5 separate regions of the Homo sapiens genome follow, and regions 2, 3, 4 and 5 are each linked to region 1. The links are contacts of gene promoters, found by promoter capture Hi-C in human tissues and cell types (Jung and others, 2019). All regions are on one chromosome and are shown on one strand. The core of a region is centred on a gene start or on the middle of the fragment in contact, and the rest is flanking DNA. Distances in the headings are between cores, read along the strand shown. Region 1 holds the start of CCR10 (C-C motif chemokine receptor 10). Region 2 overlaps STAT3 (signal transducer and activator of transcription 3). Region 3 holds the start of NBR1 (NBR1 autophagy cargo receptor). Region 4 holds the start of AARSD1 (alanyl-tRNA synthetase domain containing 1). Region 5 has its middle 17 kb from the start of AARSD1.

Region 1 (2,700 bases), core at 189-2,688:
GCCACAAACCCCACCCCTTGGCCAGCTCCAAAGTCCAGCCTTAAGCCCTGGCAAAACCTTAATCCTAGTATCGGTCACCAGTATACACTTATCCCCCAGCCCTAGCCTCAAACCCAGGCACCAGCTCCTGCTTGGATCCCAACCCCAAATCCCTGCCCGCTGACTTCATCCTCTTCCCAGAGCCCAGCCCCAGCCCCGGGCGCGCGCGGCAGCCTCAGAGCTGCAATGCGGAGCGCGGGGGAGAGGCAGGAAAAGATGAGAGCCAGCGGGCGCGCGCCGGCCGGGAAGGACCCGCGACCACCCAGCCGCAATGCGGTTCGGGGCCGCCCTGCAGGCTCTGGACTCCTGGGCCCAACCCCACCTGCCTCCAAGCCCAACACTCACAGTAGCCCCAGCCCTCGGCTCCTGAGACCGCGGCGAGCAGGATGCAGAAGAGCCGGAGATGCATCATGCAGGGCTGACGGTCCCGGCAGCCGCCTCCCTGTGAACGGCTCCGGCTAGGGCTCGAGTTCTGGCTTGGGCTCCAAGCTCTCCTCCTGGGGTTTGCAGCAGACCGCTCTCTCCTCCTTACCCACCCTTCCCTCCCTCTCTCCTTTCGCCCCCAAGCGCTCTGTCTCTCCTCTCTCTTTTCTCTCTCTCTCTCTCTGGTTCCTGGTCCTCCGCTCTTCTCTCTCTATCCTCTCCTTTCCACCCTCTTTCCTCTCACCTCCCCCCTTCCCCAGCCTCTGTCTCCTGGCACGCGCCGGTTTCCCGGACCCCGCGCAAGCGCGTGCCTCAGCCCTGCTGCGAAAGGGCGGGGGTAGAGAGCCTCTCGCCACCGGGAAAACCCCAAGTAACCCGAGGCTGCCCGGGACTAGGGCCACAGGAGTGAGGACAGGGAACCTAGGGCCAGAAGCATCCTGAAAATTTCAAGAAAAGGGAGGTGGTTTGGGGGAGGGGTGCCTGGAAATGGAATGAAGGGTAAGTAAAAGAATCTTAACATTTTCGGAAGGCAAATTATGCTCTAGGAGTGGTGCTGGGCACTGTGAATTTAGCATTTTTGCCCTACTCCACTTTGCAGATGAAAAACCTCAGGCTCAGAGAGGTCAAGAAACTTAGTCAATATCACACAGCAAATGATTATATTCCGAAGCCCGTTCTTTCTTCACTGACAAAGACAGTAAATTATTTTTTCTTTCTTTCGTTCATTCTTTTTTCTTTCTTTCCTTCCTTTTTTTCTTTCTTTCTTTCTTTCTTTCCTCTTTCCTTCCTTTCTTCTTCTTTTTTTTTTTTTCGTAAAATCCAGATCCTGCACAAGAGAGTGAAGTCTTTTGGAGGAGGTGGAATGGGAAAGTGACCCCGTAGACCCTAATCCCCACCTCCCTCTCGGCCCCTCTCCCCGCCTCTTCCTTCCTGTCCCGCTAGTAGTTTAACTTCTACCCCCTGTGGCTATACCTCAGAAACCTGTGTAGCCAGAGATGGGGACGGAGGCCACAGAGCAGGTGGGAGTGGGGGCAGGGAGGGGGAGAAGGGTTACAGAGAGGGAGGAGACAGGGAAGGAATGGGATTCCCCACCTGGCAATGGGCCTCTGCCATCCTATGGCTTATTCAGGATTCTTGGCGCTGTCTCAGACTAGGGGTCCTCCAGATAAATGGGCTGGTGGTGTGAGGCTGGGGTTGTGGGACAGGGACTAGGGCTGAGGGGAAAGGCGGGTTGAACCTAGAGGTCCAGGGTCCCACCTGGGCCCTGAAAACCTGAGTCCCAACCCTGGAGACCCCCTTGGCATGAGTGGTTCAGTGTGCTGGTATTGGAGGTACAGGGAAGGTGGGTATGGAAGGGAAAGAAGAGAAACAGAAACCCACTCCAGACGGAGGTTGGAGTCCAGGGCTCAGGTCTGAGGCAAAGCCTGCATATGGGCATCCTTCCAGGAGAGGGCGCTGCAAAGGGAACTGAAGCTGTAGGATTTATTAATAATACAAACTTTGGGCTGGGCGTGGTAGCTCAGGCCTGTAATCCCAGTACTTTGGGAGGCCAAGGTGGGCGGATCACCTGAGGTCAGGAGTTCGAGACCATCCTGGCCAACATGGTGAAACCCCATCTCTACTAAAAATACAAAAATTAGCTGGGCGTGGTGGTGGGCGCCTGTAGTCCCAGCTACTTGGGAGGCTGAGGCAGGAGAATCTCTTGAACCCGGAGGCGGAGGTTGCAGTGAGCCGAGATCGTGCCACTGCACTCCAGCCTGGGCGACAGAGCAAGACTCTGTCTCCAATAATAATAATAATAAATAATAATAATAATACAAACTTTGTATTATGGCCTTTGGAGAACACAGGTTCTCCCCATCCATTATTTTCCATATTGCCATCTTCACAGCAAACCTTGAGAGGTGGGCTGGTCAGGATTTATAATCTCAACATTACAGGTTAGGTAACTGAGGTCTAGAAAGAGCAAGTGGCTTGCTCAAGGTCACCCAGGAAGCTGGAAGCAGAGGTAGGAGGGGTGCAAGGGAAGCCAAGGCCTGCTGAAGGTGTGCTAGGAAGAGTCTGGAGAAGAGCTTATGTCTCCCCGTGTACTGTTACATCTGGCCACACAGGAGCTCTCAGCTTGGAAGGCAAGTGTGGGCGGGGGAGTTGTGTGGTCAGATGTGTCTCATAAGATCCCGCCTCTCATTTGACCCTCCCAGGTTTCCTGGGGCCATTACTCTGGGGATGAAGAGGACG
Region 2 (2,700 bases), core at 201-2,700, 340 kb after region 1:
CTAGTTAAAAAAAAATTTTTTTTTTTTTTTGGTTGAGATGAGGTCTCTTTCTATGTTCCCTGGGCCGGTCTCAAACTCCCAGCCTCAAGTGATCCTCCTGCCTTGGTTTCCCAAAGTGCTAGGATTATAGGTGGGAGCTACCATGCCTAGCCCAAGCCTGTAATTTTTTTTTTTTTTTTTTGAGATGGAGTTTCACTTTTGTTGCTCAGGCTGGAGTGCATGGCGCAGTCTTGGCTCACCACAACCTCCACCTCCCGGGTTCAGGCGATTCTCCTTCCTCAGCCTCCCGAGTAGCTGGGATTACAGGCATGCACCACCAAGCTCAGCTAACTTTGTATTTTTAGTAGAGATGGGTTTCTCCGTGTCGGTCAGGCTGGTCTCAAACTCCTGACCTCAGGTAATCTGCCCACCTTGGCCTCCCAAAGTGCTGGGATTACAGGCATCAGCCACCGCACCTGGCACGAACCTGTAATTTTTAAGTTTCATATGCTATTTATTTTTTGTTATTTCTTTAATTCATTCATTCATTTATTCATTCGAGATGGGGCCTCACTATGTTGACTAGGCTAGTTTTGAACTCCTGGCCTCAAGCAGTCCTCCCACTTCAGCCTTCCCAAGTGCTGATATTATAGGTGTGAGCTGCTACATCCAGCCTTCTTTCTTCTTTTTCTTTTTCCATGTGCTATTTGACATTTTCCAAGGTACCAGCCTCCCCTTCTCCCCAAGATAATATCTTTTAATATGGAATTTCATCCCTAGGGCAGGACTTTTTTTTTATTATCCCTCAGAAATATACTGGACACCACGTTTAAGTAGACATCCAACATCTGCTGTCATAAATTGTTTTGAATTTTTTGACATACTTGCCCATGAGGTTTTTGAAGGCATAGACCATGTCTTAGCTGAACATGTGGTCTCTTAGTGCCATAAAGGGGGTTTATGGTATGACCTGTGTAGTGTCACCTGTGTAGTGACAGCACCACTGCCTCTGTTTCCCTTCCTCTTGTGATGGCAGCAGCGTCTCAAGCCAAACAAGAAGGGTAGTTAGGGTGGGATGGAAGCTGGGTAGAGGTATTCCTCTCCCCATAGTTCTGTGTTCACATGTGCATTGACCTCCTTTTTGGCAGCAAGGGGGCCAGGCCAACCACCCCACAGCAGCCGTGGTGACGGAGAAGCAGCAGATGCTGGAGCAGCACCTTCAGGATGTCCGGAAGAGAGTGCAGGTGATGCAAGTTACAAGCCTCGGGCAGGGAGCTTTCATTAATTTTTTTTTTTTTTTTTGAGACAGGGTCTTGCTCTGCCACTCAGGCTGGGCTGCAGTGGCATGATCACAGCTCACTGCAGCCTCGACCTCTCAGGCCCAAGCGATCCTCCTACCTCATCCTCCCAAGTAGCCGGGACCACAGGCATGCACCACCACGCCCAGCTAATTAAAAAAAAAAAATTTGTAGAGATGGGGGTCTCCCTGTGTTGTCCAGGCTGATCATGAACTCCTGGGCTCAAGTGATCCTCCCAACTCAGCCTCTCAAAGTGCTGGCATTACAGGCGTGAGCCACTGCACCTGGCCAACAGGGAGCCTTCTCTTGGGGATACTGCCTGCAGGTCCTGCATGTATCTTTTTTGAGGTTTTGGCTTCATTTGAATTCTCCTCAGAAACTTTATATTTTCTGTTCCCAAGGAAATCTTTCTTTACTTCTGTTTTTTTGTTTGCTTATTTTAAACAGGATCTAGAACAGAAAATGAAAGTGGTAGAGAATCTCCAGGATGACTTTGATTTCAACTATAAAACCCTCAAGAGTCAAGGAGGCAAGTGAATATTAGAGATGTTAAAATCTCTAGAAAGTGAGTTTGTGTTGTTGAGTTGAAAGACTCATTTGTCTTAACTCTGTTTAGATCTTAAGGCGGGCGGGGCGCAAGGGAGGTACGGGTCCTCAAAGGAGCCTGGTCATTAAGGACAGGAGTATTCCCTCAGGTCCAGGAGTATTCCCTCAGGTCCAGGAGTATTCCCTCAGGTCAAGGAGTATTCCCTCAGGTCAAGGAGTATTCCCTCAGGTCCAGGAGTATTCCCTCAGGTCCAGGAGTATTCCCTCAGGTCCAGGAGTATTCCCTCAGGTCCAGGAGTATTCCCTCAGGTCCAGGAGTATTCCCTCAGGTCAAGGAGTATTCCCTCAGGTCCAGGAGTATTCCCTCAGGTCCAGGAGTATTCCCTCAGGTCCAGGAGTATTCCCTCAGGTCCAGGAGTATTCCCTCAGGTCCAGGAGTATTCCCTCAGGTCAAGGAGTATTCCCTCAGGTCCAGGAGTATTCCCTCAGGTCCAGGAGTATTCCCTCAGGTCCAGGAGTATTCCCTCAGGTCAAGGAGTATTCCCTCAGGTCCAGGAGTATTCCCTCAGGTCCAGGAGTATTCCCTCAGGTCCAGGAGTATTCCCTCAGGTCCAGGAGTATTCCCTCAGGTCCAGGAGTATTCCCTCAGGTCCAGGAGTATTCCCTCAGGTCCAGGAGTATTCCCTCAGGTCCAGGAGTATTCCCTCAGGTCAAGGAGTATTCCCTCAGGTCCAGGAGTATTCCCTCAGGTCCAGGAGTATTCCCTCAGGTCCAGGAGTATTCCCTCAGGTCAAGGAGTATTCCCTCAGGTCAAGGAGTATTCCCTCAGGTCAAGGAGTTTTTTCTTCCTTCGCAGACATGCAAGATCTGAATGGAA
Region 3 (2,730 bases), core at 190-2,689, 490 kb before region 1:
CAAAATAATATTAGTCTCTTAACAACAATCCTGCTGACATCTAGTATTCATTCATATGAAATGTAATTATTGGGGTCCTTAAAATTTGAGAATCTTTGTCAATTCCCCAGGACCTTAGGCAAAAAATCAAGGAAATGAAGTGACTCAGTCCGCCAAAAGTGGGTATTCTGAAATATCACTTTCCAACTTCAAGAAACACACTTCCCTACTTGTGAAGGAAATGAATCTTCCTCTCTTTTTCTCAAATTACACAATTGGAAATTTAGATACTCTGGAGCTCCTCCAGCTGGTGGGCCAACTAAGAGAAAACAGGAAGTGGGAGATTCTAGCTTGGCTGGACCATATCCAGGTCTTCATAAGGAACTCTCTTTGGCTGACATGTAAAAAAATTCTTTCAGCAGGAGCATTAATCTTAAACGTGTGTAAACACCAAAGCTATGGTTAACCCTATCTGCCCCTTAGGTCTACAGCCAGTAGAGTCAGATAGCTGGGTCTTAGGCCTTCAGCTTTCATAACTGGCATTATTGTAAGTCCATGCCACTGACTCACCTTTGCTTGGCACAAGTTAGCTTTTCCTCCACGTCGATTTTTTTTTCAGCCTCAACAAAATCCCTTTAATGAAACAGACCTGGCAACCTGAGCTTTGATTACTGTCTCCACCAGAGGCCTTTACAAGCCAAGTTATCCAGGCTTTAAAATGTGTGACCTGAGGCCGGGAGCGGTGGCTTATACCTGTAATCCCAGCACTTTGGGAGGCCAAGGCACGAGGATCGCTTGAGCTCAGCAGTTCAAGCCCAGCCTGGGTTGGTCTTTGAGAAAGCAAGACTCTGTCTCAAAAAAGTGTGGCCTGAAAGCTGAGTGTTTGACAAAAAGGAAAAACAGTGCCTTTCCAAAACCGAAGGTCCCTAACCAAGGAGATCTCTTTAAGGTCTCGAAAAAACGAGGATGGGATGAGAAGGATGTGTAAGTAGTGTCATTTTTTTACTTGCAGAGTTCATCCTAGTCTTCCAGTTTTCGTTTCCTAGCACTCCATGTTCCCAAGACAGTGTCACTACCCCGAGGGCTCTCTCATTTTCTTTGCCTAGGCCCTCATTCCACTGGGGAGTCGTGGCCTTCCATCAGTAGAAGCCGGATGTTCTGACCCACAGACTCTCCAACTCTCCGGCGCTTCTCGCCAACTCGGTCCCTCTGAACATGAAGGGCTCTCTCATCCTGTCACTAAAAAGATTAGCTGTCCCGAAACACGGAAAAAGTCGCCCCTCTTCTTTGCAGGATTCCTCCCTTGAACTTCCCCAAACCCTCTTAGCGTGACGTGACCCCACCCCTAGGTAACCGCAGCTGCTTCCTTACCAGCTTCCCGCCCCCGGGGGGCGCCTGCCGGAGGCCAATGCAAGGACCGTCCGCTACCGGCTCTGCCGCTATCCCTGTGGGGTGAATCTAACATGGCGGATAAAGACAGTAACTAGTCCCCTGTTTCTCCGAGTGTTCGCCAAGATGATTGGCTCTCACCACTTGTCCCTCAAAACGACCACGCCATTGATTGGTGGAGATTGCGTCGATGGGGCGGGGCAGAAGCAACCTGAACCCGAACAACAATAACAAACATTGAGGCTGAGGGGCGGAACTAGGAGTGCGCAGATGTGGGCCAGAGCGGATTTCCCCTTCCCCAGGCAAATTCGGCGCCCACTGCGTCCCCGCAGGCCACTGACCTTAGAGGACTACTTGCCCGAGACTCGTGGGGCTGGATGGGAATCGTAGTCTTCCTAGGAGTTGTAGGTATCTTTTTTTGGCCTAGTCTCTGCTCTCAAGATAGGAGAACATAACAACACTCCAATCCATTACTGTTGACATGTATAAGCCCGCGGAGGTCTCCAATCTATCCACTGGATTTCCGTGAGAATTGTGCCCGCTTTGGTATTGGATGTTCCTCTCCATAAGACTACAGTTTCCAAGGAACAGTGTGGCCAAGGCCTTTCGTTCCGCAATGCATGTTGGAAATAGTAGTTCTTTCCCTCCACCTCCCAACAATCCTTTTATTTACCTAAACTGGAGACCTCCATTAGGGCGGAAAGAGTGGGGTAATGGGACCTCTTCTTAAGACTGCTTTGGACACTATCTTACGCTGATATTCAGGCCTCAGGTGGCGATTCTGACCTTGGTACAGCAATTACTGTGACGTAATAAGCCGCAACTGGAAGCGTAGAGGCGAGAGGGCGGGCGCTTTACGGCGAACTCAGGTAGAATTCTTCCTTTTCCGTCTCTTTCTTTTTATGTCACCAGGGGAGGACTGGGTGGCCAACCCAGAGCCCCGAGAGATGCTAGGCTCTTTCTGTCCCGCCCTTCCTCTGACTGTGTCTTGATTTCCTATTCTGAGAGGCTATTGCTCAGCGGTTTCCGTGGCAACAGTAAAGCGTGGGAATTACAGATAAATTAAAACTGTGGAACCCCTTTCCTCGGCTGCCGCCAAGGTGTTCGGTCCTTCCGAGGAAGCTAAGGCCGCGTTGGGGTGAGACCCTCACTTCATCCGGTGAGTAGCACCGCGTCCGGCAGCCCCAGCCCCACACTCGCCCGCGCTATGGCCTCCGTCTCCCAGCTTGCCTGCATCTACTCTGCCCTCATTCTGCAGGACTATGAGGTGACCTTTACGGAGGATAAGATCAATGCCCTTATTAAAGCAGCCAGTGTAAATATTGAAACTTTTTGGCCTGGCTTGTTTGCAAAGGTCCTGGC
Region 4 (2,829 bases), core at 1-2,500, 280 kb before region 1:
GCCCAAACTATTTTAATGTAATGTAATGTAATTTTCTTGAGACGTAGTCTCGCTGGGTTACCCAGGCTGGAGTGCAGTGGTACGATTTCGGCTCACTGCAACCTCCTCCTCTCGGGTTAAAGTGATTCTCCTGCCTCAGCCTCCCGTGTAGCTGGGATTATATAGGCGTGTGCCACCACGCCTGGCTAATGTTTTTGTGTTTTTAGTAGAAACAGGGTTTCACCATGTTGGCCACGCTGGCCAAATTGTTCTTCTTTTTTTTTTTTTTTTTTTTTTTTGAGACGGAGTCTCGCTCTGTCGCCCAGGCTGGAGTGCAATGGTGCGATCTCGGCTCACTGCAAGCTCCGCCTCCCAGGTTCACGCCATTCTCCTGCCTCAGCCTCCGGAGTAGCTGGGACTACAGGCGTCCGCCACCACGCCCGGCTAATTTTTTGTATTTTTAGTAGAGACGGGATTTCACCGCGTTAGTCAGGATGGTCTCGATATCCTGACCTCGTGATCCGCCCGCCTCGGCCTCCCAAAGTGCTGGGATTACAGGCGTGAGTCACCGCGCTCGGCCTTTTTTTTTTTTTTTTTTTTTTTTTTTAATTGAGACGGAGTCTCGCTCTGTCGCCCAGGCTGGAGTGCAGTGGTGCAATCTCTGCTCACTGCAACCCCGCCTCCCGGGTTCCAGCGATTCTCCTGCCTCAGCCTCCCGGGTAGCTGGGATTACAGGCGCCCGCCACCACGCCCGGCTAATTTTTGTATTTTTAGTAGAGACGGAGTTTCGCTATGTTGGCCAGGCTGGTCTCGAACTCCTGGCCTGAGGTGATCCACCCGCCTCGACCTCCCAAAATGCTGGGATTACAGGCGTGAGCCACCTCCCCCAGCTCCTTGCTTTCTATTTCTACTGGGCAGTGCTGCTCAGTAACCATGCCAGTCCCGTCCCCGCCTCTATGCGCTGGGATTCCGCAGCCAGAATACTTACATCCCTGGGGCCCCAAGGGGCTCACTAAACCACGTGCCTTGTCCAGGTCGCGTTTTTTTGTTTTTGTTTGTTTGTTTTTTTCCTCCTGGTCTTGTCCTTTGTAAAGCCTTAGAACAGTCGTTAAACAACCCAGCAAATATGCAATTCGCGTTTTCAGTAAATTTATCCAAACCGCATTCCATTCCTTACCCTCCTGCTTCTGCGCAGACAAGCGCCCTTGATGACGTTTGTCCCACGTCGCTCTCCGTTCGCTCCCAGGCTTCTCTGCGCGTGCGCCTCCTCACACGCCTGCAGGTATGGCGTTCTGGTGTCAGCGTGACAGTTATGCCCGAGAGGTACGGCGTCACGGCGAGGCACTTGAGACTGCCGGGCCGGCAAGGCGGTTTGGGGAAGAGGGCGCCACGTGTAGGGAGTGCCAACATGGCATTCTGTCCTGGTGTGGAGAGGGCTAGGGCTAGGGCTGGGGTCGGGGCTTATTCTCTCATTCCTCTCTGTTCAGTTCACCACCACCGTGGTCTCCTGCTGTCCCGCGGAGCTGCAGACTGAAGGGAGCAACGGCAAGAAAGAAGTGCTGAGCGGTTTCCAAGTGGTGCTGGAAGACACAGTGCTTTTCCCTGAGGGCGGGGGACAGGTACCAAAACGATCTCTTCCCAGGAAGCCCCCAGTTTCTTTGTGCTCAGGCCGAAATGCTCTCCTGCCCCTTTTTTCTCAGCCATAATGAATTCAGATGAGCTTTAGTTTAATTCATTTTGTTATTCATTTAATGAGTATTTATCAGCAATTGCTTATCTAGACATAACATATGCTAGATATTATTCCAGGCTGTAAGGATAACCGGTGAACAACACAGTGCCTTTATATACGTGGAATGTTTATTGAAGACAACTGTGTGTGCTAGGTATAATAAGTAATAAACAAAAACCAAGTAAAGGGAAAGAGAGTGATGGGATGCTTGTCTAGATGAAGGGTAAGTTATTTCAGTAGAGACCTAAACGAAGTGAGGGGGTGAGTCTTTGCAATTATCTAGTGGTGCTGGGGGGCAGAGGGAGTATTCAGGCAGGTAGAATAGCAGGTGCAAAGGCCCCAAGGAAGGAATTAGCTTCGGGTTTTAGGGACTGAAAAAGATGTTCCTGAAGGAGTTCAGGTGAGATAGACGGGTTACAGTAGTACAGCAGAGAGCATATTTATCAGTGCTGTGATGAGGACTAGGTACAACATGAGCGCAAGTGAGGTACATTGTGAAGATGGAAGAGGAGGATAATAACACCAAAGGTGGGCATTATGAGAAAGGCTTTTCTTTCTTTTCTTTTCTTTCTTTCTTTCTTTTTTTTTTTGAGACAGAATCTCTCGCTGTCATCAGGCTGAAGTGCAGTGGCATGATCTCAGCTCTGCAACCTCCGCCTCCTGGGTTCAAGTGATTCTCCTGTCTCAGCCTCCCAAGTAGCCTGACCAACATGATGAAACCTTGTCTCTACTAAAAATATAAAAATTAACCAGGCATACTGGCAGGCCCCTGTAGTCCCAGCTACTCGGGAGGCTGAGGCATGAGAATCACTTGAACCGGGAGGCTGAAGTTGCAGTGAGCCAAGATTGTGCCACTGCACTTCAGCGTGGGGGACAGAACAAGACTCCGTCTCAAAAGAAAAAAAAAAGGTGTATTAAGGTGTGTGGGCAGCGAACCATGCAGGTTATTTTCTTTCTTTTTTATTTTTAAGAGACAGGATCTTGCTATGTCACCCAGGCTGGAGTGCAGTGGCCTGATCTAGCTCACTGCAGCCTCGAACTCCCAGGCTCAAGCAATCCTCCTGTTTTAGCCTCTCCAGTAGTGGGGACTACAGGCGCACAACCAACATGCTTGGCTG
Region 5 (2,787 bases), core at 28-2,527, 270 kb before region 1:
AGTCTTGTTCTGCCACCTAGGCCGGAGTGCAGTGGCATGATTTTGGCTCACTGCAACCTCCGCTTCCTGGGTTCAAGCAATTCTTGTGCCTCAGCCACCCAAGTAGCTGGGATTACAGGTGTGTGCTACCAAAAATTTCCTTCAACCCTGCCACTGAGTTACCCAATTTCTTTCTCCAGAATCAATCACTTAATTTTTTTGTTTTAGATGGAGTTTCGCTCTTGTTGCCCAGGCTGGAGTGCAATGGCGCAGTCTCCGCTCACTGCAACCTCCGCCTCCCGAGTTCAAGCAATTCTCCTGCCTCAGCCTACCGAGTAGCTGGGATTACAGGCATGTGCCACCATGCCCGGCTAATTTTGTATTTTTAGTAGAGATGGGGTTTCACCATGTTGGCCAGGCTGGTCTCGAGCTCCTGACCTCAGGTAATCCGCCGGCCTCGGCCTCCCAAAGTGCTGGGATTACAAGTATGAGCCACCATGCCTGGCCTTTTTTTTTTTTTTTTTTCCAGATATAGTCTCACTCTGTTGCCCAGGCTGGAATGCAGTGGCACAATCATGGCTTACTGCAGTCTCAACCTCCTGGGAACAGGTGATCCTCCCACCTCAGCCCTCTGAGTAGCTGGGACTAGAGGTGTGCACCACCACACCTGGCTAATTTTTTGTATTTTTTCTAGAGACAGTGCTTTGCCGTGTTGCCCACACTAGTCTTGAACTCCTGGGCTCTAGCAATTTGTCCACTTTGGCCTCCCAGTGTTGGGATTACAGGCGTGAGCCACCATGCCCAGCCTGTTACCAATTTCTTATATATCCCTCTGGTAGTATTTTAAAAAATAGATGTACATAAATCTTCCCTCTTTTTAAACATAAATGGTAGCACATTGTATACTCTTCTGCATCTTGCTTTTCTCAGAGTGCCATGTTTTAGATAAAACCATAGTGTAACACTCATGCTATACAAAATGGGTCCATTAGTGGGAGAAAGGGAAATGTTTGCTTCACAGAAGCTTCCTTACTTTTGTAGAAGGACTCAGGCAGGATCTTGAACAGAGACCCATGTGAATTTGTCTCTGTGTGAGATCTCTGTCCCTCTCTGTGTTTGTTTCTTTAGGGTGTGCCTTAGTCTGATCTGACTGCTATAATAACAAAAACTAGGTAGCTTATAAACAACAAAAATGTATTTCTCACAGTGGAGGCTGGGAAGCTGGCAAATTCAGTGTCTGGTGTGAAGGTTCAAATACTGGTTCAGGAATAGCCATCTTTTTGCACCCTTGGTGCAAAGGGTAAGGGGTCTTTCTTGGGCCTTTTTTTTTTTTTTTTTTTTTTGAGACAGATGGAGTTTCACTCTTGTTGCTCAGGCTGAAGTGCAATGGTGCAATCTCAGCTCACTGCAACCTCCACCCCCTAGGTTCAAGTGATTCTCCTGCCTCAGCCTCCCGAGTAGCTGGGATTACAGGCGCCTGCCATCCCACCCAGCTAATATTTTGTATTTTTAGTAGAGATGGGGTTTCACCATGTTGGCCAGGCTGGTCTCGAACTCCTGACCTCAGGTGATCCGCCTGCCTCAGCCTCCCAAAGTGCTGGGATTACAGGCATGAGCCTCCGCACCCAGCCCTCTCGGGCCTCTTTTATAATGCACTAATTTCATTCACGAAGGCTCTGCCCCCGTGACCTAATCACCTGCTAAAGGGCCCACCTCCTGATACCACTTAGGGGGTTAGGATTTCAACATATGAATTTTTAGGGGTACACAAAGATTCAGAACACAGGTGCAACAACAAGAACAGTGACCTGGGAGGCCACTCTTGCTCACTACCACTCAGGTGGGTTCTTGTCACTTAGACCTAGAGCAACCATGTAATTTTAATATCCAGAGTTAGGCAAACCTCATGCCAGAACAACAGTCAGAAACCCAGACGGTGTTAAGGTAGCCTGGATGTCTGGTCCCCCTGCTGAGACTCCCTGAGCTTCAGTTTCTTGACCTGAAAATGGACACATGAACTGGGTGTCCTAAGAAGGAAGGAACCTTATGAAATAATTAAGAAAAGCCATAAACACTTGAGCAAATTATGTGAAAATGGTAATTGGTTGTATAAAGAAAGAGAAAATAAAGCAGCAGTTTTTGAACTGGTGATGTCATTCTTGCCTGTCACTGAGGCCCTAATCCAATGCCCCAGGGAGAGGGGGAGAAGAACAGAGTGTGTTCAGGGGAAGGGGTGGATTGTCTTTTATGAGGTTCACCAGGAAACAAAATGAGTTCATTTATTGGAGTAATCAAGTTTTAGGTACACACACAGGTTATATATTCTGGAATGTTACTATAACCCACTTTACGGCACAGAAATAGTAAGGGGGACTCCTTGGCTTCTAAGGAAATTTTTTTATGTGCGTACCCATAAATTGCTGAAGACAGCTGCTGTAGCTTCCACTAAGGTGATGCATGTAGGTACTAGAACAGATGTTAGTATGAAAGATGAAAGGTATCAGGTGGAAGAGACCCAGAGCAGTAGACAGACTGAATTCAGGGCCGGCGCTGTGGCTCATGCCTGTAATCCCAACACTTTGGGAGGCTGAGGCAGGTGGATCACCTGAGGTCGGGAGTTTGAGATCAGCCTGACCAACATGGGAAAAACCCCGCCTCTACTAAAAATACAAAATTAGCCAAGTGTGGTGGCGCATGCCTGCAATCCCAGCTACTCTGGAGGCTGAGGTAGGAGAATTGCTTGAACCCGGGAGGCGGAGGTTGCAGTGAGCCAAGATCGCGCCGTTGCACTCCATCCAGCCTAGGCAA

Evidence for each region. The method cuts DNA at HindIII sites, captures the fragments that hold promoters and counts their contacts. A contact is called where the count stands out against the background at its distance.
Region 2: a contact is called between a fragment that was not itself captured here and the fragment with the promoter of CCR10 in region 1, in 1 of the 25 tissues and cell types used here (pancreas).
Region 3: a contact is called between the fragment with the promoter of NBR1 here and the fragment with the promoter of CCR10 in region 1, in 1 of the 25 tissues and cell types used here (mesendoderm cells).
Region 4: a contact is called between the fragment with the promoter of AARSD1 here and the fragment with the promoter of CCR10 in region 1, in 1 of the 25 tissues and cell types used here (mesendoderm cells).
Region 5: a fragment that was not itself captured here is called in contact with the fragment with the promoter of CCR10 in region 1 in 1 of the 25 tissues and cell types used here (mesendoderm cells).

Annotation. Positions count from the first base shown.
Region 1 is chr17:42,680,581-42,683,280 of GRCh38, reverse strand. It overlaps CCR10 (C-C motif chemokine receptor 10), which reads left to right and starts at 1,438. Exons shown (of 2, transcript NM_016602.3): 1 at 1,438-1,481; 2 at 2,664-2,700. The coding sequence starts at 1,458. It overlaps CNTNAP1 (contactin associated protein 1), which reads right to left and starts at 750. Exons shown (of 24, transcript NM_003632.3): 1 at 385-750. The coding sequence starts at 451. RefSeq lists enhancers at 296-345, 606-655, 599-1,217, 2,436-2,700 and a silencer at 1,756-2,050. The HindIII fragment of the contact is 6,302 bases long and covers 1-2,700 here.
Region 2 is chr17:42,337,837-42,340,536 of GRCh38, reverse strand. It overlaps STAT3 (signal transducer and activator of transcription 3), which reads left to right. Exons shown (of 24, transcript NM_139276.3): 5 at 1,128-1,223; 6 at 1,725-1,806; 7 at 2,680-2,700. Among named protein-coding and RNA genes, the nearest start is that of STAT3, 49 kb to the left of the region's middle. RefSeq lists a silencer at 2,684-2,700. The HindIII fragment of the contact is 7,087 bases long and covers 1-2,700 here.
Region 3 is chr17:43,169,923-43,172,652 of GRCh38, reverse strand. NBR1 (NBR1 autophagy cargo receptor) reads right to left here and starts at 1,439. Exons shown (of 21, transcript NM_005899.5): 1 at 1,351-1,439. LOC101929767 (a long non-coding RNA gene) reads left to right here and starts at 2,250. Exons shown (of 2, transcript NR_110868.1): 1 at 2,250-2,527. It overlaps LOC124900391 (a long non-coding RNA gene), which reads left to right and starts at 1,689. Exons shown (of 2, transcript XR_007065760.1): 1 at 1,689-2,237. It also overlaps a transcript of BRCA1 not described here and the pseudogene BRCA1P1. RefSeq lists enhancers at 1,299-1,408, 1,729-1,838, 2,089-2,138, 2,409-2,618. The HindIII fragment of the contact is 14,047 bases long and covers 1-2,730 here.
Region 4 is chr17:42,962,875-42,965,703 of GRCh38, reverse strand. It overlaps AARSD1 (alanyl-tRNA synthetase domain containing 1), which reads left to right and starts at 1,250. Exons shown (of 12, transcript NM_001261434.2): 1 at 1,250-1,302; 2 at 1,467-1,598. The coding sequence starts at 1,264. PTGES3L-AARSD1 (PTGES3L-AARSD1 readthrough) reads left to right here. Exons shown (of 17, transcript NM_001136042.2): 7 at 1,467-1,598. The HindIII fragment of the contact is 19,831 bases long and covers 1-2,829 here.
Region 5 is chr17:42,946,398-42,949,184 of GRCh38, reverse strand. No RefSeq gene overlaps it. Among named protein-coding and RNA genes, the nearest start is that of AARSD1, 17 kb to the left of the region's middle. The HindIII fragment of the contact is 8,985 bases long and covers 1-2,787 here.